Regions from separate parts of the Homo sapiens genome. Here all the other regions are linked to region 5. Evidence: promoter capture Hi-C in 16 types of primary human blood cells and fetal thymus (Javierre and others, 2016). All regions are on one chromosome and are shown on one strand. The core of a region is centred on a gene start or on the middle of the fragment in contact, and the rest is flanking DNA. Distances in the headings are between cores, read along the strand shown. Region 1 holds the start of ANGEL2 (angel homolog 2). Region 2 overlaps LINC01740 (long intergenic non-protein coding RNA 1740). Region 3 overlaps NSL1 (NSL1 component of MIS12 kinetochore complex). Region 4 overlaps ANGEL2 (angel homolog 2). Region 5 holds the start of INTS7 (integrator complex subunit 7).

Region 1 (3,880 bases), core at 686-3,185, 980 kb after region 5:
AAGCCTATCCACAACTTCATAAATTCACAAAACTACTTCTCTTACTAATCAACGGGTGGATAATTTATTTCTCCATTCTTTTTTAAGCATGATTCTCGTTGGGGGAAATGAAAGAGGATGGGGATGACGTACTACGAATGCACCAACACTCCAAACCAACAGCTTCAATTTAACCCATCATCCAAAACATCTCCAAAGTGGCGCTAACATTTTTAATAGGTATGTTGCTCTCAGGCTCTCAAGAAACACTTCAGCTTAATAAAGCACCATGTTCCTCTCACTATACTACTTTGGCAAAATGTTAAGATTCAGAGAAGGACTTTTATCCTTTCCTCCAAAATTCTTAACAGCTACATTTCTACCACAGCATCAATAATGTGCGCTCCCATCCCTAAGGGAATTTTGTTTAAGTTGCGTTTACTGTTATTTAACTTTATACGCTGTTATTCTCGTTTTAACAGCATTTAAATTTTTATTATAATTTTTACAGTTTAAGTATTCGCTAGTTGTTCTCTAAAATCTACTTAATTGTAAATCTTTAAAGGCATAACATGGGCATTCTACACTGCTTTGTGATAACTCTGAAAGCCATAGGAATTTGGGCACTTGGTCCATGCATTTTCTATGCTAATAAGCCACTGTATTGAAATATAATACTTGTACTACAAAAGCTATTATCTATATTTGCAGTTATTTATTCAGACTTTTTTTTCTCTTAAGATGTTAAGCTCCTTCAGGGCCAGAACAGAACCGTCTTATTCATTTTAATTCCGTTATCTTCACAAGTGCCTAGCACAGTGCCTGGCAAACAGCTGGTACTCAGGAAACATTGTTGAACTGAATTACCATCAAGTCCCAGGCCTATGGGAGTTACAACCAAATCCCCATCGCTTATGTAATAATACATGCTGTGTTTCCCAAGCGTGGTGGGTGGTACACGAGTCGGTTTCACAGAGTACACAGTTAAATTACTTGATTGTAATTTCTAAATACTTATGTTAGTTTATTAGGAAAAAACATAATCGCACATCAAATCCAAGACTCTGCAGACACTGCTTAGGGTGAAGCTAATGTGGGCAGCACCTACTGAAGTGCTTTTTAAAAAAAACTGAGTCAATTTAAAGAAAAATATCCAGTAAATAATACACGTGAAACAAGAACTTGGCCATAACAGTAAGGGATGACATACAAGTGACTAAAGTTTGAAAGACACTAACACATCAACAAAAATCAAGCCCCTCCTGGGCGTGTGCCACACACGCGCCTCCAAGGGATCAGGCCCGCCGAGACCTACTGCGGAGAGGCGGCCTCCCCGCCGACGCTCGGTTCCCGGGACGGTGCTGCGGAGTGTGTGGAGCAGGCCAGCGCTGGTCTGGAGGCTGGGTTGGGGGAAGCAGGCCAGGGATCCAAAGCCACTGGCACAAGCCTGGCCGGCGGCCCATGAACTCCGCGCCAAGACCCCAGACCTCGTTGGCCCAGCGTCCCGCCAGCTGCGCGGCGGGTTTACCTATCCCGCTTGGTCTCTGGAGGCTCGTCCCGGATGCACCATCGCCCAGACCCTCTTCCTCTTCCTTCCACCCCTAGCCCGCCCCGCCCCGCCCCGGGTTAGTCCCGGACGCCCGCCCGCTCTTTCAGGCCGCCCGCCCCTCTCTCCTCCCTCCGAGTACCCAGCCCTACTGACCGGCCTCTTCCCACCACACAGTGGCCGTAGCCCTTCCTCACACAGCGCCAGGCTTCCATCTTCGCCCTCCGCGTGCGTCCAGTTCCCAGGCCCCGGGTTCCACCTCAATCTCTATAATCGATGCGACGGCCTAAAGTATCTAGGGAACCCCATCACTCTTAAGTACCGACTCCAGTCCTGGCTGCAAGGCATGCTGGGAGGTGCAGTCTCGCCGGCCGGCCTACACTCCATCTTGCGCAGTCAGAGTCCCTGAATGCCTTAACCCGGAATTCTGCTCAAGGAGCATGCGCAGAGCGTGGGACGCGCGTGCAACCATTTCTGAAGAGGGCAAAACACCCGAACTTCGTCTTAAAGAAACAGAAATAAACTTTCTTTTTTTTCTTTTTCTTTCTTTCTTTCTTTTTTTTTTTTTGAGATGGAGTTTCGCTCTTGTCGCCCAGGCTGTAGTGCAATGGCACGATCTCGGCTCACTGCAACCTCCACCTCCCGGGTTCAAGCGATTCTCCTGCCTCAGCCTGCCAAGTAGCTGGGATTACAGGCATGAGCCACCACACCCGGCTAATTTTTGAATTTTTAGTAGAGACAGGGTTGCACCATGTTGGCCAGGCTGGTTTCGAACTCCTGACCTCAAGTGATTCGCCCGCCTCGGCCTCCCAAAGTGCTGGGATTACAGGAGTGAGCTACCGCGCCCGGCAGAAATAAACAGAGCAGTGAAAATTTTTAATTGCCCAAAGTGCAGATTCCCAGCTGAGGCTGAACAACGCATCCTCTGGGTGCCCATGGAACTGAGGTACCACAGAATTTTGCAATTAATGTTGCGGAAGCACAGCCATAGCTCTCACTTTAAAATGTACGTGTATGGGCCGGGCGCGGTGGCTCACGCCTGTAATCCCAGCACTCTGGGAGGCCAAGGCGGGCGGATCACGAGGTCAGGAGATCGAGACCATCCTGGCTAACACGGTGAAACCCCGTCTCTACTAAACATACAAAGAATTAGCCGGGCGTGGTGGCGGGCGCCTGTGGTCCCAGCTACTCGGGAGCCTGAGGCAGGAGAATGGCGTGAACCTGGGAGGCAGAGCTTGCAGTGAGCAGAGATCGAGCCACTGCACTCCAGCCTGGGCGACAGAGCGAGACTCCGTCTCAAAAAAAAAAAAAAAAAAAAAAAAAGTACTTGTATGTCTTGTGTGTCCACCTTTATTAAATGTATTATAGGACTGTAGATTGTTGAAAGACATTATTTAAGTGGAGACCCTGCAAGAAACAGGAAGAGAGAAACCGAGAAAGAATAAAGTGTGGAGAGTAGAGGGGAAAAGGATACTAGAAGGCAGGAGCACTGCTTTTATAGGCTCTTTGAAACAGTGGTAATTTCTTGGGAAGGCTTTTCTTATCCCTGGTGCATAAAAGGAAGTAAAGTGTATTTGAAAAAAACCTTTCCCTCAGTATGTAATTGATTCTTGTTATTTGCAGTAGTTAGGTTCTGTAAAGTTGCTGGAAACACTGAATTAGTAAATACTGAATCATTACTCCTAAGGGAAATACAGGATTAGGATCCTGTAAGCCTCTGGTCGCATTTTCATCAACTTAATCAATACATAGTTTTGTTGTATGTGTGTTTCCGCTTAAAGACATCTTATTTAATATATATTGTTGATTCATTAACATTGAACTCAGTCAACAGCACTATAATTCATACCTCAACAAAGCTTATCTAACACTGCTATTTTCTCTGCAAGGCTCATGACAGCCTTCTTGTGCTTAGGAGCACTATACAGCACAACGCTTGGGGACCATTTTAAACAGCAACATCAACAAAAAGTACAAAAACGTGAAAAACATATCACTAAATGGAATGTGAAAAGGACACTTGGTCCTGATGGCTCACGCCTGTAATCCCAGCAATATGGGAGGCCAAGGCGGCTGGATCGCTTCAGCCAGGGAGTTCAAGACCACACTGGACAACATGGCGAAACCCCGTCCCTACAAAAAATACAAAAATTAGCCGGGCATGGTGGCTCTCGTCTGTAGTCCCAGCTACTCCAGAATTTGAGGTGAAAGGATTACTTTAGCCCGAGAGGGCGAGGCTGCAGTGAACCAAGATAGTGTCACTGTACTCCAGCCCTGGCAACAAGGGGACACTATGGTATAGCATGAGAGCTGAAACAAAAAGGCAGAGAATGCCTTGTTTAGCCTCAGCTGGGA
Region 2 (3,646 bases), core at 997-3,496, 520 kb after region 5:
AAGAAAAGAAAGATCTTCAGAGTCAATGGTTTTGGGGAAAGATGAATGAGTCCTTAGATGAATAGATGATGGTTTGTGACAAGGTCTGGGTGTGGTGGACTTCTGGCCTCCTCTCCTGTGATAAGAGTTAATCATCAGAGGTTTGGTAACAATTGACTTCATCTTGCAGGATGTGTCTTTAGGCATATGGAGGGAAACTCAGAGAACCTCTCCATTTTGAAATTTTTCAAGTGCCTTTAGCTCAAAGTAATCAATATACAAAAAAATATATATACCAATATACATATTTTGGGGTGGCATTTCCTGAACTCCTTCAATGGTGCTGGGGTTCAGAAACCAACACCCTAAAGTATGGCACTTTAACATGCTGAACTTCAGATGAAGCCTCTCAAGGTCTCTCTGGCATGCCCCACCCCTCTCCGCACTCTCTCCCAGAGCACAAGGCCAATCTGTTCTCTGAAGTTCCCTGATCTGCCTAAAGTTTGGGTCCACCAAAGAAGAAAACAATTACCTGTGGTCCCTTCCCTGAGTTTTCAGTAACTGAACTCATATCACAGGAAGAAAAACTGAAGTTTGTCAACAAATTTGGACAGACTTTTGTCACAAACCATTGTCTGCTCTGCGGGCCCAACAGACTTTGTCTCAGGCCATTGTATGTTCCTCACGCCTACTGAATTCCCCAAAATTCATTTACTACTACCCTAAAATCATCCACACTTCCCCATCTCCCTTTCTCCTAAGAAGAAGGGTATATACAAGCATCTGTGTCCCATTGCATGGTGGCGTAATCACTCTATGATAGTTCCCCTATGCATGCTAATAAGTTTGTATGCTTTTTCTCCCATTAATCTGCCTTTTGTAAGTTGATTTTCTCCTTATGAAAAGAGAAATATTAAGCTAATTGGGCTTACTTGGTATATTAAATTATACGGGAAGCATTGCCAAATAAGAAGTAAGGCTAAACCTTCTTTGGATTATATTTGTATGAATGTGTTATTAACATATTTCAGAAATTGTGTGAAATTCATAGAAATTTGATAGTTCTGGAATAACATTATCAGTCATAATTCTGGTTACTATCTTAAAATGTTGCATGCAACAGAAATAACCAAATTCCCTTCTCAATTGTGTTATCATCGTAATGAACTCTCATCAGATCTTTAACTATGAACATTTGAAGTCTTGTTATTCTCAGCTGGCAATTGTTTACTGTGGTCTATCTTTTTTCTTTCTCCCCTGTTTCCTTATGTCCTAATTACTTCCTTTTCCTTGCAGGAAAATCCATGGAACCATAATCTATGGATGGCTTTAGGTAAGGCTTATGCTCTAGCAAAAAACCAGAGCAACTGTTAGGCTTATGAAGATAAGCTAGTTTCCACTGAGGAATGATTCCAATGGGGTTCTTGAGGGCTCACTCTTGGCAGTAGTAGTGTATCAGTCATATGGAATTTGAAACCAATCCATAAATTGGGGAAAAATCCTGGACTTTGTGGCTAACCAGAACTCCCAGAGGTTCAAACGGGCAGAAGTCATCCTTTGAGAAAGGTGGATGATGGCATATATACTTTTTTTTTTTTTTTCTGAGATGGAGTCACCCAGGCTGGAGTACAGTGGGGCAATCTCGGCTCACTGCAACCTCTGCCTCCTGGGTTTAAGCAATTCTCTGCCTCAGCCTCCCGACTAGCTGGGATTACAGGCGCGTGCCATCACGCCCGGCTAATTTTTGTATTTTTAGTAGAGACGGGGTTTCATCATTTCGGCCAGGCTGGTCTTGAAGTCCTGACCTCGTGATCCACCCGCCTTGGCCTCCCAAAATGCTGGGATTACAGGCATGAGCCACTGCGCCCAGACAGCATATGTTTTAAGAAAAAACATTTACTGGAACATCATGTGGACTTAGAGCTTCTTTTCGCCCAAATTGGAGGCTTGTATATAGTATTGACAAAACTGAATATTGTGCCTGTCTGTCCCCTAATTTTGTTACTAGAGGAAGCTTAACTAAAAACAAAGGTGAAACTGCTGTTTCTTTAGACACTGCCATCAAATACATGAAGGAAATTTCTTAAGGGAAAGGAACACATGCTGTGTCCATGGCAGCAGCTAACAGTTGGTTTGCAGGAATCCTGAGTGGTGGATGGCAAGCTTGGCTTTTCCAGGGTTTTCTAATCTATGTTCTTCTAGTGGGTCTCCAGGTTACTAAGGCTTGTGTTATCAAGTTAATGACAAAATTGGATACTTATTTAAATCAGATCATTCTATAGCAAGCTGTGGTCCTTAATTTCCATCACACTTTGAATAAGGATTATGGCCAAATGGACTCAAATACTGTTAAGCTGCCTATATTACTTACCTAAGCTTTGACTTGTTTGATTTGGATCAATTTGGTCCCTCAGGGCTCCTGTTAAGGAATACGCTTCATTTTTTGGTGTTATCCTAAATACCAAATCCTATCTAACAGTCATCATGATAGTCCCCTGCTGTGCTGTATCCTCTCAAGTCTTAAATGTTAGTATGCAGCCATCCATTGAGCACTGAATGATCTCACTTTGACTAAATCAGCAAGAACATAATTATTCGACTGATGTGATAACTTGTGAATTCCATATTGAGACCAAGTAAGTCCATTTATGATGGTGACAGACAGTGGCATGAATCAGACATGTTTTTAGAAAGTTTTATTAATTTTATTTAAAATTTTATTTTCAGGAATGGGATTGACTGCAAAGGAGCACAAGGGAACTTCCTGGGGTGATGGAAATGTTTTGTCTTGATTGTGGTAATGATTACATGACTATGTTTGTCAAAATTCCAGAACTTTATACCTAAAAGGGTGAATTTTACTGCATGTAAATTATACCTAAACACATGACTTTTTAAAAAGGCCTGAAATCTTAACTACTCAGCTAAAAATAAAATAAAATAAAATAAACAATTTAGGTGCAAAACAAGTTTTGTTTTTGGGACTGACAGAGGTCCAGTGATTGTATTTATTTATAAAGCTAATAATCCAATCCAATATATCAATATCAATACTTTTAAATAGGATATAAAAAGTTATGAGATTTTTTAAAATAAGGATTTAGACTGCAAAATATTATGACTACAATGTTCCTGAAGCAACACTATCTTAAAAAATATCTCAAACAGAAAATAACACTCTAATGCTCTCAATCATTGCAATAATTGAAACTTCCAGAATATTACCATAATGCTGCTTATATTACATACCCAAAGCCCTGTATTTAATAGTTAAAAACAAAGAATTATTTAATACCAGCTAGCTTCATTACTTGATAGATTAACTTGCTTGACAGATCAACATTACTTGATAGATTACTGGATAGATCAACTAGCTTCCTAAAACATAACTGTAGCTCAGCTTCTAAAAAAGGTGAAAGAAATTATTATATTCAACTGAACTAGATTTTAAAAATAAAGACTATCAAGAACATAGGAAGAGGTAATTAAATGACGGGTCCTCTCTACTAAGGTTTCAATAGAAGCAAATACATCCGAGAAACCATTTACAAAGAACTCACCCTCATAATTGCCTTAGAGACCAAAGTCACAATTTTAAGGCCAAGATCTTTAGAAATCAGATAGGTCAGTGTGACGGTTAATTCTGTGTCAAACTTGACTGGATTAT
Region 3 (3,900 bases), core at 5-2,504, 720 kb after region 5:
AGATCACCTAAGGGAATGCTAAAAGTCTAGAGTTTAGGATTTTAAGCAGAGGACTGAAAACTGATTTGCATTTTTAAAAGTATCCTAAGACTTCCTAGTCAAGTTGATTTCAGTAGTGCATAAAACTCCCTTCCTATGTCCAAAAGCATCAGTGAATATAGAAAATTAAAATGACATATCCTAAAGCATATACAAAATAAAACATTTCAATGAACCAGAAAAAAAGGAGAAGAGAAAAAGCTGCAAGTCAGGCTAAAGCTGCAGGCCTACCGGTAAGCAGAAGTAGCCAGGAATTGGCCTCCTGCAAGATAAAAGGTGTTCGAAGTGCTCCAGAAGAACAGGAAACGAAGAGACAGCTTCACTGTTTGAAACCGAGGGCTGAGACAGAGTTTACCCACCCTGAAAAGGTGGCTGAAAAAAACTGCCACTAACCAGCCCGGCGCGGTGGCTCACACCTGTAATCCCAGCACTTAAGGAGGCTGAGATGGGTGGATCACGTGAGGTCAGGAGTTGGAGACTAGCCTGGCCAACATGGTGAAACCCCGCCTCTACTAAAAATACAAAAATTATCCGGGCGTGGTGGTGGGCACCTGTAATCCCAGCTACTCAGGAGGATGAGGCAGGAGAATCACTTGAACCCAGGAGGCAGAGGTTGCAGTGAGCAACCATTACATTCCAGCCTGGGCAACAAGAGTAAAATTCTGTCTCAAAAAAAAAAAAAAAACCAACTCAAAAGACAAAACTGCTCCTAACCGCTGCCAGGAAGCAAAGCTTACTTAAAGCTAAACCAGAAATGATGGGAAGCAGATAATGCCTCCAAGCCTGGGCCTGGACCAATCTCCAGTGTCACACTGGGACAGAGGCCCTCTGTTGCCAGTGTTAAGATATGGCTCCAGCCTGGGATTGTTTGGGGCCAGATGGAAGGCAACCAAACCTACTAGACAGAGGGAGTGAAAGCAGTGGTAGACAGATATGCACATGAAAAATTCTAGTCAAGAAGCACTTGCAAATCAAAAGTCTAAAATACATGAAGAAATTAAAACCATGAAAGACAGCCAGTATAACCAATGTCAGGGAGAGGAATTTACTGCAGATGAAATGAAAATAGAGCAATATAAAAATGACTTTAAAATGCTACACAGCTCCAATAGCTAAAGAAAATCATAAGACATTGCAAAAGAAAAATAGGTTATAAAATAAAAACATAAAATACAAAAATAGAAGAAATGAGAAAGAAGCAAAGTTGAAGGATTAGGTTAAAGATTTTCTAGAATATAGGAGTCCTCAGATAAAAGTATATATGGAGATGTTAATGGAAGATGGGAGAAAAGAGGAATCTAGCAAAACCAAATAATCTCTCACAAAAAACAAAAATACATATATAATATTATTTAAATAAAATTGTCTCTGTGTATATAAGCAAGAAAAAAATTACCAATAAAAACCATGGAGTTGAACTATGTTACATGTTGAGTGAAAAAAGAAAAACAATGACAGAATAAAATGCATTATGTAATATTTATATAAACAACTAAAAAAACCCCTGTGTCTACCTATGTGCATACAAATGCATTGATAAAGATCTAAAATTAGACACAGCAAACTGATAATAGTTGCCTATTTGAAGATGTGTGGGATGTGACAGATTGGGAGGCGAAGTTATGGTATATTTCATATAAATATGAATATGTATATATTTTCATATATATCTATATGTAATTATTAAAAATTTTACATTAAGCTTGCATTTATTAAAAGCACAAGAAATACAATTTAAAAGATAACCACAATTTAAAACAATAAGGTTAGAGCTACGGCAGTCGAATGGAGGATGTCTACCATAAACTTAAGCTAGGAAATTGCAGATAATTTGAACACATGAATAAATTTTCTGTAAATTATGCCCCCAAAATGTCCAGTGCATATTTATTCCTGTAACAATTATATAAGCACAGAAAAAAGGATAAATGAATTCATACCAGGTTAATGTTGGATATCTAAAGGGGTGACAGGAAGAGAGAGAAGAAACCAAAAACAAAAAGTAAAAATACAATGCTATCCTTGTTGGGTTTTTTTGAGACAGGTTCTCACTCTGTCACTCAGGCTGGAGTGTAGTGGCAGGACCATAGCTCACTGCAGCCTTGACCTCCTGGGTTCAAATGATCCTCCCTCTGCAGCTTCCCGAGTAGCTGGAACTACAGGCATGCACCACCATGCTTGGCTAATTTTTGTATTTTTTGTAGAGACGGGGTTTTGCCATGTTGCCCTAGCTGGTCTCAAACTCCTGTGCTCAAGCGATCAGCTTCCCAAAGTGCTGGGCTTACAGGTGTGAGCCACTGCATCCGGCCGACTTTGGTTTTTAAAAGGGACAATGTAATATGTAATTCAATCCTATTTATATAAAATTATGTATTGTTTGCAAAAATATAAATATTTATTGAGTGTACCATGTCAGAAAATAATCTTAAGAGTCAGGGGCTGGGCGCAGTGGCTCATGCCTGTAATCCCAGAACTTTGGGAGGCCGAGGTGGGAGGATCACCCGAGTTCAAGACTTTGAAACCAGCCTGGCCAATATGGTGAAACCTTGTCTCTATTAAATATGCAAAAGTTAGCCAGGTGTGATGGCGGGTGCCTGTAATCCCAGCTAGTCTAGAGGCTGAGGCAGGAGAATCACTTGAACCTGGGAGGTGGAGGTTGCAGTGAGCTGAGAGCGTGCCACTGCATTCCAGCCTGGGCGACAGAGCAAGGCTCCGTCTCAAAAAAAAGAAAAGAAAAGAAAAAAGAGGGAAAACTGGGCATCCCAAAGTTCTTGCTCACAGGGAGCTTACAATACTGTGGGGAGGGAAGAGGAAAATAAGGAGAAATTATATAATATCTGTAAGTGGCAGAGAAAAATAAAGCAGGTTAAAGGGATACAGTATGATCAAGGGAGTCATAAGAGAATCTGACACAGGTTGTAAGGTGTATCAGATGAAGTGACACTTTGAACAGAGAGCTGAATGAAGTGCAAGAGTCAGGCAGGTAGTTTCGGAGAGCAGTTTCAAATACAGGGAGTTGCGAGTATGAAAGTCGTAGGGCCAGTGTGTTCTTGGTATGTCCTGAAATAGCAAGAATATTAGTGTTAGTGGAGCACAGTAAGCGAGGGTGAGATGGTAAGTGAACACTGTCAGAGATGAGATCAGAGAAGCAGCCGGGGACCATATCATTGAGGGCCTCTTAGACCAAAGGAATTATAATGGGGAGCCACTGGAGGGCCTTCAACAGGGAGTGACATAATCTGATTATGCTTTAAAAGAAATTGTTTGGATGCTGTGTGAAAAGTAGAACTGGATGGAAGGAGACCAGGGTGTTAGTCTGTTTTATTACTATAAAGGAATATGTAAGACTGGGTAATTTATAAAGAAAAGAGGTTTAATTGGCTCACAGTTCGGCAGGCTGTACAAGCATAGCACCAACATTTGCTCAGCTTCTGGTAGGGCCTCAGTGAGCTTTCAATCATGATGGAAGCCAAAGGAGGAACGGTACATCCATGGCAAGAGATGGAGCAAGGATGTGGATGTGGGGAGGTGCCACAGTCTTTAAAACAACCAGCTCTCAGGTGAATTCAGAGGGAGAGCTCACTCATTACCACAAGGAGGGCACCAAGCCACGGATGAGGGATCTGCCCCCAAGACCCAGACACCTTGCACTAGGTCCATCTACAACATTGAAGGTCCCATTTCAACCATGAGATTTAGAAGGAACAAAACATCCAAACCATATTAATCAGTGAGAAAGCTATTATAGTGGTCCTAAGCGAATATGGTGACATGGATAAGAGCAGGAGAGACAGATTTGGTTGGTAAGCAGCAGGATTTGAAATATGTTTCCAAGGTAAAGGCAGCAGGATCTACTGATGG
Region 4 (3,840 bases), core at 361-2,860, 960 kb after region 5:
AATTTTACTAGGATTTAGAATATAAAACCTTTACATCTCTTTTACAATAAAGAGAATTTAGAGCTCACTTGTCACGAAAATATTTTTCATTATTAAAAAAAATTGTTATAAAGTTATTTCTTCTGATATGGAGTTTCAAAGCATCTAACATAACCGCTTCAGAATCTCCACAGTGCAAAAATAAACAACATGCATACACTTAAGAACTTTACATTCTTTGAAAAACAATACAAATTGGAAAGAAAATTAGTATGTGATCAAAGAGAGTCAGAGCTCAAGTCTGAACTTTGCCAATAAAGGCAGATGATCTGAAGAGTTATTTTCGTTTGGAAGTCCATTAACAGTCCATAAGTCTTGTTCTGTAAGAAGTGACAGTCTAGCTAGAAGTTTCAAGCCACCAACCAAAGCAACTTCAGCTCCTACATTAAAGAAGCACACACATATTTAGTAAAATTGTCAACGGGTTATTGTAAATTAATCATACAAGTCTTTTCTCCAAACAAATATAGAACTTGAGGCCCCTCCAGAAGACTAAAAACTATGACACAGTTTTTAGAATATCTAAGCTTTATTGAATTATAACCTAATTATAATTATCAAACACACAGCAGTTTGAGATATTTTTTCTATTTCCAGCTCTGTAAACAATCTTTAGAAGAAAATATAAATGAAATACTTAAGAATGTTAAGGGTAATTTGTGGTTGACAACTACATAAGAAACTCATCCAGCAACCATTCTGTAGTTGCATAAAGCCAGAGACACCGGGCCACAGCCCTGTAGCAGTTTATAAGGTGAATGGAGAATAAATTAGTATAATTTAGTCCCAGATAGTCAGCACCCACAGAAGTGAAGATGACATGCTCTTTTTGAAATGCTGATCCATAACACTCTCCTGCCACCAAGTGAACTTCTGTCAGCATGACAACTACGAAAACCTTACTATAAATTCAAAGCAGCAGGCATATTTTTTGTAGAGTAGATCTAGTGGCAGGAATAAGTCATCTCGTGAGTGTTACTAATAAGGTTATTCCCAGAAGAAAGGAGGGGGGAACAAACAGAGGGGAAAAGGGTAAAGAAAAAGAAGCATCCAAAAAAATGGAAGAGAAAAAAATGAAAAAAATCAGAAAAGAATAAAACAGCTGCTCACATTCCAAAGTTTTCTTAAAGGTATTTTTGTACTTCCAGTAATCTTAAACTGCATTTTCTTCTCCACTTTAAATCCTTTGGCTAATGTTTAAAACCTGATTTTCGGCCGGGCACAGTGGCTCACGCCTGTAATCCCAGCACTTTGGGAGGCCGAGGCAGGCAGATCATGAGGTCAGGAGATCGAGACCATCCTGGCCAACACGGTGAAATCCCGTCTCTACTAAAAATACAAAAAATTAGCCGGGCATGGTGGCGGGCGCCTGTAGTCCCAGTGGCTCGGGAGGCTGAGGCAGGAGAATGGTGTGAACCTGGGAGGCGGAGCTTGCAGTGAGCTGAGATAGCGCCACTGCACTCCAGCCTGGGCGACGAGCGAGACTCCGTCTCAAAAACAAACAAACAAAAAAATTATATAGACTTTTCTGACCGAATGTGGTGGCTCATGCCTGTAATCCAAGCCACCCTGGGAGGCCGAGGTGGACGGCTTGAGCCCAGGAGTTTGAGACCAGCCTGGGCAACACGGTGAAACCCTGTCTCTACAAAAAATACAAAAATTAGGTGGGCATGGTGGCTCATGCCTGTAGTCTTAGCTACTCGGGAAGCTGAGGTGGGAAGGTCACTTGAACCCGGGAGACAGAGGTTGCAGTAAGCCGAGAATCATGCCACTGCACTCTAGCCTGGGTAACAGAGCGAGACTCTGTATCCAAAAAAAAAAAAAAAAAATATATATATATATATATATATATATATATACTTTTCCTCCTCAGAAAAATCCAATATTCCAGAGTCAACATGACAGCATAAGCTGTGTTGCTGGCAGTGTAACTATGGTCCTCCAATGAAGGCAGGACGCCTCGGTAAAATTTAAGCACAAAACTATGATGACCATTAACAACATACTCAGTTCCTGTCACAGGAAAAACAGTAAATTTATGGCAAGCAAAAAGAAAGGGCAATATGAAAGACCTATAACTCAGAGGCTGACTGGAACTGGAGGGTAGGACTGCTAATGTAATTCTTGGGTAATAATTTGCTTGGATGTGTTTTATTGCCTCCCTCATATGCAAGTAATCAACTGATTTATTCAAATATATTACCAATCTGTCTATTTCGAAATATTTTTACCTTCTAGATCTAGAACTTCAACTGGATGTTTAGAGAGCTTTCTTAACTTTAACCTTGAGGTTTTAGCTACTGTGCTCTCTAGGAGAATTTAAGATTACATGCATTCCTTACCTGGGTGCCCAGCAACATCTTCCTTTTCTGCAGAGTAGAAAATATAATCCACAGTTATGGCACTTCGGGAATGACAGGTGGTCACTTCTGGAATTCCAGTGTCAGGAAAGTAATGTGAATAAACAGATGACAAACTGAAATGGTGCTGTAAATTTGAAGACAATCTAAATAGAAAAGAAGAAGTGTTTAGAATCCGAGTTTTTGTAACTTCAAGAATTCCTCCTATCTGAATTTCTTTTTCACTTAATTTCTAGACTAAGACCAAACATTAGGACAAGCTTTATTTAAAAAGACCATATCATAATTTAGTATTAATTTACTTATGCAGTGATATCTAAAACCCATCAATAAAGCCATTATAAATGTGGTTTTTAAAAAAAGCTCAATAATTAACATACTAATGTGTTTTTTCATTATTTATAACGTGTGAATGCCTCCACTTACTAAAGAACATGTATTCTAACAAGTTTTATTGTGTTTTTAAGAAAGAGAATCAAGGGGGTCTTCAGGAACACTATTTGGAATCCTCTAGACTTTTGATGACAGAGAGGCCATATTCTTCTCTAATTTTTCTTGCTATCACATATAATTTTGTACTGCATCTTAAAACAGCTTCTCTAATGGTTTATTATATTTGCCCCATGCACAAATATATGTGATGTTATGAGTAAAAGGTTTAAAGACTATTTTCTAGTGATACTTTATGAATCTTAAGGATCTTTTATGCCTTGAAGGAAAATAAAATTAAAAAAGAAACTTATCCAACAAACATTTACCAAACATCTTCTAAGTTCTAGGCAATATGTCAGGTGCTGAGAATACATAGATGAAGATGTTTCCCTTGCTTTTAAAGTGTTCATATGTCAGGAACAAAGGTAAATCCTTAAAAATGCCCTCTAAGTTTTATTAGCAACTTTTTATGTCTAAGGATTTATAATATTAAACATAAAATAGGGCCGGACGCGGTGGCTCACACCTGTAATCCCAGCACTTTGGGAAGCCAAGGCGGGAAGATTGCTTGAGCTCAGGAGCTCGAGACCAGCCTGGGCAACACAGTGAGACCTCATCTCTACAAAAAAAAAAAAAAAATCTAGAAAAGTAGCTACGCGTGGAGGCACATGCCTGTGGTCTCAGCTACTTGGCAGACTAAGGTAGGAGAAAGGCTTGAGCCTGGGAGGTGGAGGCTGCAGTGAGCCAAGATCATGCCACTGCACTCTAGCCTGGATGACAGTGAGATCAACTCTCAAATAAAAATAATAAATAAAAATAGGTCTTCTGCAAACTCTTATCTATCAATTTTTCAGTTTACAGATATAAGCTATGCATATAAACACTCTGTATTTACATAAAGATACAAAAAAGTATCTTTTTTTTTTTTTTTTTTTGAGACAGAGTCTTGCTCTGTCGCCCAGGCTGGAGTGCAGTGGCATGATCTCAGCTCACTGCAACCTCCACCTCC
Region 5 (3,829 bases), core at 967-3,466:
ACAGCTTTAAAAGTTACTACAGATGAGATGAAAAAGAACAAGTCATCTTTCTGAGCCTGAGATTCACCTGTAAAACACTCACGCCAGGCATTGCTGGGAGGAGTGCAAATGATCACTTACTCTGTGTCTAAGATTGACACCTGATTTCTTTCCTATAGATATAAAATATTTTCATTTCAACTCTTCTTTAAAAAGGAAAAATTGTGGTTTTTTTCTTACAACTGCAAAATTTGAGGAATTAAACCATTCTAGACTCCTCTTCAGTGCCCCATCTTTATCCCTGTTCCACAACCACTATCCTATTGTCAGCATGAGACAAGCTCAGCTGCACCAGAATGGTAGAAAATGTCCTTAGAACTCGTAGGGATATTAGATATTATCCTGACCTGTAACTTTCACTGAGGAATAAGAAAGAAATGTATCAGAATGAGGAGGAAAGTGTTTGAAAAACACATTTAAGGCCGGGCGCGGTGGCTCATGCCTGTAAATCCCAGCACTTTGGAAGGCCGAGGCGGACGGATCACCTGAGGTCAGGAGTTGGAGACCAGCCTGGCCAACATGGTGAAACCCCGTCTATACTAAAAATACAAAAATTAGCCGGGCGTGGTGGCGGGCGCCTGTAATTCCAGCTACTCGGGAGGCTGAGGCAGGAGAACCGTTTGAACTCGGGAGGCGGAGGTTGCAGTGAGCCGAGATGGCGCCACTGCACTCTAGCCTGGGCAACAGAGCAACACTCTGTCTCCAAAAAAAAAGAGAAAAACACATTTAGTATTATACTTTTTTTTTTCAGAGGAGAAAACCCCTAAAGATTTGGTAAGAGAAGGAAAAGTTCAACATAATTTTCTTGGTTGATGGGGGTGCACTAAAGATACTGAGACTCAACCAAAGGAATATCCCATTAGGGGGCTGTGAAATTTTTGTGTTTATCAAAATAAGGTAAAAGCTTTTTTAAGAGCCTGAGAAACTCTTATTTAGACTAACCCACTAAAAATATTCACAGTTTAAAAAATAAACAGAAAAAGAGTCCCAAAAAAGTTAATAGACATGTCCAACTCAGAAAACTGGGAAGTGGCTCAAACCCTTCTGAGTTCTAGTCCAGTTCTCCAACATTATATATTGGCTACGATTAATCAAGATTTAATTGTATACCAGCTGCCGAAATGTTTCCCGTACAATAAAAATCCTCAATATGAAATAAAGGTTTCATATTACTAGTCGAGTTCTTTACTAACAAATTTCCGACCTTGCCTCCCATATCCACATCTAAGAAGGGAGGTATATCTCTTCAGCATTTACTAAATGCTTCTTTTGCATACCATTAAGTCACTTAATACAATTCTGCCGGCTCAATGGTACTGTACCCACTTTGCAGACGACAAGCCGAGGCTAGATGAAGTTAATCATAAAATCAGCGGCATTGAAACTTAACTCAGTGTAACCCCAAAGCTCCCTCTACACCAAGCTGCTCCCTGTACGGCAACAGAACTCCTGGAACTTGTCCGCAGAGAATGAGCAGGGCCCTTGCTTTTTTATGGTCTTGGCCAGGTTTAGCCTGCCTTGTAACCCGCAGGTAACAGAGCTATGGAAATCAAATGAATCGCTGTCAAGTCGGTGCAAGATTACTATTCAGCACATTTCATGAAGACCTGGTCTCAACTGAACAGACTGAAAACCAATTTCACAATTTCTTTGCAGTGTCTCTTAGAAACTAGCCACTGTCACTGCTTAGAAAATCGGGGGACTGCTCCCTCAAGTGGTCAAAACGGGCCTCTCACTAGAGCTCGCTACTTGTTTAGCCGGTATAAGGCCAGTCACACAATCCTGCAAATTTCCCGCAACCTCCCGAAGGGGTCAAAGCCCACGCCCCAGCAAAAGCACAGGCGCTCCCCGCCCAGCGAAGACATGCGCATGCGCCTATCCGTCTTCTCCCAAAGCAACCACCACCTGGTGGCGCCACTTCCCCCCACGCCTGTTTCACCCATTCAGCCCTCTCTTTCGAATACCTTTGTCCAATTCCATAAGGGCAGAGTTGGCATCCAGTTCCTGTTCGCCATAGCCGGCATCTGCCAGGAAAGACTTAGTTGAGTTTGACGCCATGACCCGAATAGTTACTCGACTAGCCTAGTCAGAAAGCTTGCAAACTCTACCCCAGGACCGCCATCTTCCCCCGCCGCCTTCTTGCTGGTTTTTCTTCCGCGCGCTGTCAAGCCCTGTTACGCATGCGCCCTGGTCACCCCGCGGTTTGTCCGCGCCTCTGCTACCCCCTGCGCAGGCGCTCAAGGAGCTCTTGGACTCCAGGTTCCCGCGGCTGGGAGAAAAGGAGGCGGGGATCCGAAGGGGGAAATGACTCTGAGGCGCCCGGACGTCGCTCGGAAGCCAATCAGAGAGCGTGACGTCAGTTTGGCGCGGAGTTTGGCGGCCGGGGCTTACAGTGGCGGGAGTTGGAGGCGATAACGATTTGTGTTGTGAGAGGCGCAAGCTGCGATTTCTGCTGAACTTGGAGGCATTTCTACGACTTTTCTCTCAGCTGAGGCTTTTCCTCCGACCCTGATGCTCTTCAATTCGGTGCTCCGCCAGCCCCAGCTTGGCGTCCTGAGAAATGGTGAGTAACGGTCCCAACCGCTGCTCGGAGCTGGCGGAATTCATTTCCCCCGAAACACACGCCACCTCCGACCAGGGCCGACTCCAATTCTGAACTCAGCTTCTGAGTTCTCCCATGGCAAGGGTAAATTAGTGTTAGCAGGGACTACTAAAGAAAGCTGTACTTTCATCCCCTCGGGACACTTGTAATCGTAATCGGGCTTTTAAAATCGTAACGTAGGCAGGGACGTCGAAATAACTGCCTTCCAAGGCCCCTTACAGCTTACATCTCCATTGCGCGTTAACGGGAAAATGCATGCATTTGTGTGTATATGTTTCCTTCAACGGTTATTTGAGATGCTCAAAACTCCTAATCATTGATTAATTCATTCGTTTGTTGTAGAATCTTAGTGAGCCCAGCTATGTGCTATAGGTATATACCAGTGAATATGACCCGCTGTTAAGGAACTCAGTCAAGCAGAGAAGACAGGATATCTGCTTCTAACAGGAACAAAATCTTATTTTCCCCGTTTACTACACGGTCATAAAAATTTAAATTATAGAGTGAAAGATGCCTGTAACCACATCCGCCAGAGATGACCCCTGTTAATAGATTGAAGTATATTATTCCAGATGTTTTCGACGCTAGAGGTAATACCTATTATTTTCAGAAATCGGATCAAAACGTCCAGTTTTTTCACTTTAATGGTATAAGTTGAACGTATTCCCATGTTAATACGTAGAAATCTAACTTATTTTCTTACGCTAAAACATTGGCAATAAGAGATTTGAGGTTAGATTTGGATGTCATCAACTTAAACTTTTTGGTAAGTTTCAGATAAGGGAGCTAACTACCCAGATTAACCTTGGACAGAAATAAAATCTCACTCATGTGAAGGTCGACTATAGCCAGAGGTTCTTTTTCCCCTTGAAACTATGTGGAAAACGAACCTGAGAAGGGAATTTTTATATTCAGCGATGAGTCTAGGAAAATAATATTGAGAAAGAGACTGAGAAGTAGTCCCTCAACTTCCTGCTAGCAGTCTGAAACTTTATACCATCCTTATTTATTTCCCTCTTAGATAATCTTTGTAATTATACTTAAATGCTCCTCTTTCTGTCTCTCCTGGGACCTTGTTTGAGTAACTTCTTTGTCCTCTGTTTAAGAGTGACAGTACGCACAGTGGCTAAGAACTCTGTCTTTGAAGTTAAACTGCCTGGGTTTTATTATACTTCCACACCTTACTAT

What was found. The method cuts DNA at HindIII sites, captures the fragments that hold promoters and counts their contacts. A CHiCAGO score of 5 or more calls a contact.
Region 1: the fragment with the promoter of ANGEL2 here is called in contact with the fragment with the promoter of INTS7 in region 5 in 8 of 17 cell types (naive CD4 T cells, fetal thymus, total B cells and 5 more); the score reaches 8.4 in naive CD4 T cells.
Region 2: a fragment that was not itself captured here is called in contact with the fragment with the promoter of INTS7 in region 5 in 8 of 17 cell types (naive CD4 T cells, naive CD8 T cells, total CD8 T cells and 5 more); the score reaches 8.1 in naive CD4 T cells.
Region 3: a fragment that was not itself captured here is called in contact with the fragment with the promoter of INTS7 in region 5 in 1 of 17 cell types (M1 macrophages); the score reaches 5.2 in M1 macrophages.
Region 4: a fragment that was not itself captured here is called in contact with the fragment with the promoter of INTS7 in region 5 in 1 of 17 cell types (total B cells); the score reaches 5.1 in total B cells.

The regions. Positions count from the first base shown.
Region 1 is chr1:213,013,932-213,017,811 of GRCh38, forward strand. It overlaps ANGEL2 (angel homolog 2), which reads right to left and starts at 1,936. Exons shown (of 9, transcript NM_144567.5): 1 at 1,682-1,936. The coding sequence starts at 1,740. RefSeq lists enhancers at 773-1,361, 1,362-1,949, 1,662-1,971. The HindIII fragment of the contact is 5,816 bases long and covers 1-3,382 here.
Region 2 is chr1:212,553,137-212,556,782 of GRCh38, forward strand. LINC01740 (long intergenic non-protein coding RNA 1740) reads left to right here. Exons shown (of 3, transcript NR_125985.1): 2 at 1,276-1,312; 3 at 2,707-2,930. Among named protein-coding and RNA genes, the nearest start is that of LINC01740, 9.3 kb to the left of the region's middle. The HindIII fragment of the contact is 213 bases long and covers 2,141-2,353 here.
Region 3 is chr1:212,754,062-212,757,961 of GRCh38, forward strand. The region is part of intron 4 of NSL1 (NSL1 component of MIS12 kinetochore complex); the gene reads right to left. Among named protein-coding and RNA genes, the nearest start is that of NSL1, 36 kb to the right of the region's middle. The HindIII fragment of the contact is 970 bases long and covers 770-1,739 here.
Region 4 is chr1:212,994,774-212,998,613 of GRCh38, forward strand. ANGEL2 (angel homolog 2) reads right to left here. Exons shown (of 9, transcript NM_144567.5): 8 at 2,382-2,545; 9 at 1-419. The coding sequence ends at 268. Among named protein-coding and RNA genes, the nearest start is that of ANGEL2, 19 kb to the right of the region's middle. The HindIII fragment of the contact is 2,093 bases long and covers 565-2,657 here.
Region 5 is chr1:212,033,341-212,037,169 of GRCh38, forward strand. It overlaps INTS7 (integrator complex subunit 7), which reads right to left and starts at 2,217. Exons shown (of 20, transcript NM_015434.4): 1 at 2,004-2,217. The coding sequence starts at 2,097. DTL (denticleless E3 ubiquitin protein ligase adapter) reads left to right here and starts at 2,408. Exons shown (of 15, transcript NM_016448.4): 1 at 2,408-2,602. The coding sequence starts at 2,551. RefSeq lists enhancers at 2,068-2,277, 2,156-2,692, 2,438-2,677, 2,693-3,227. The HindIII fragment of the contact is 8,834 bases long and covers 2,132-3,829 here.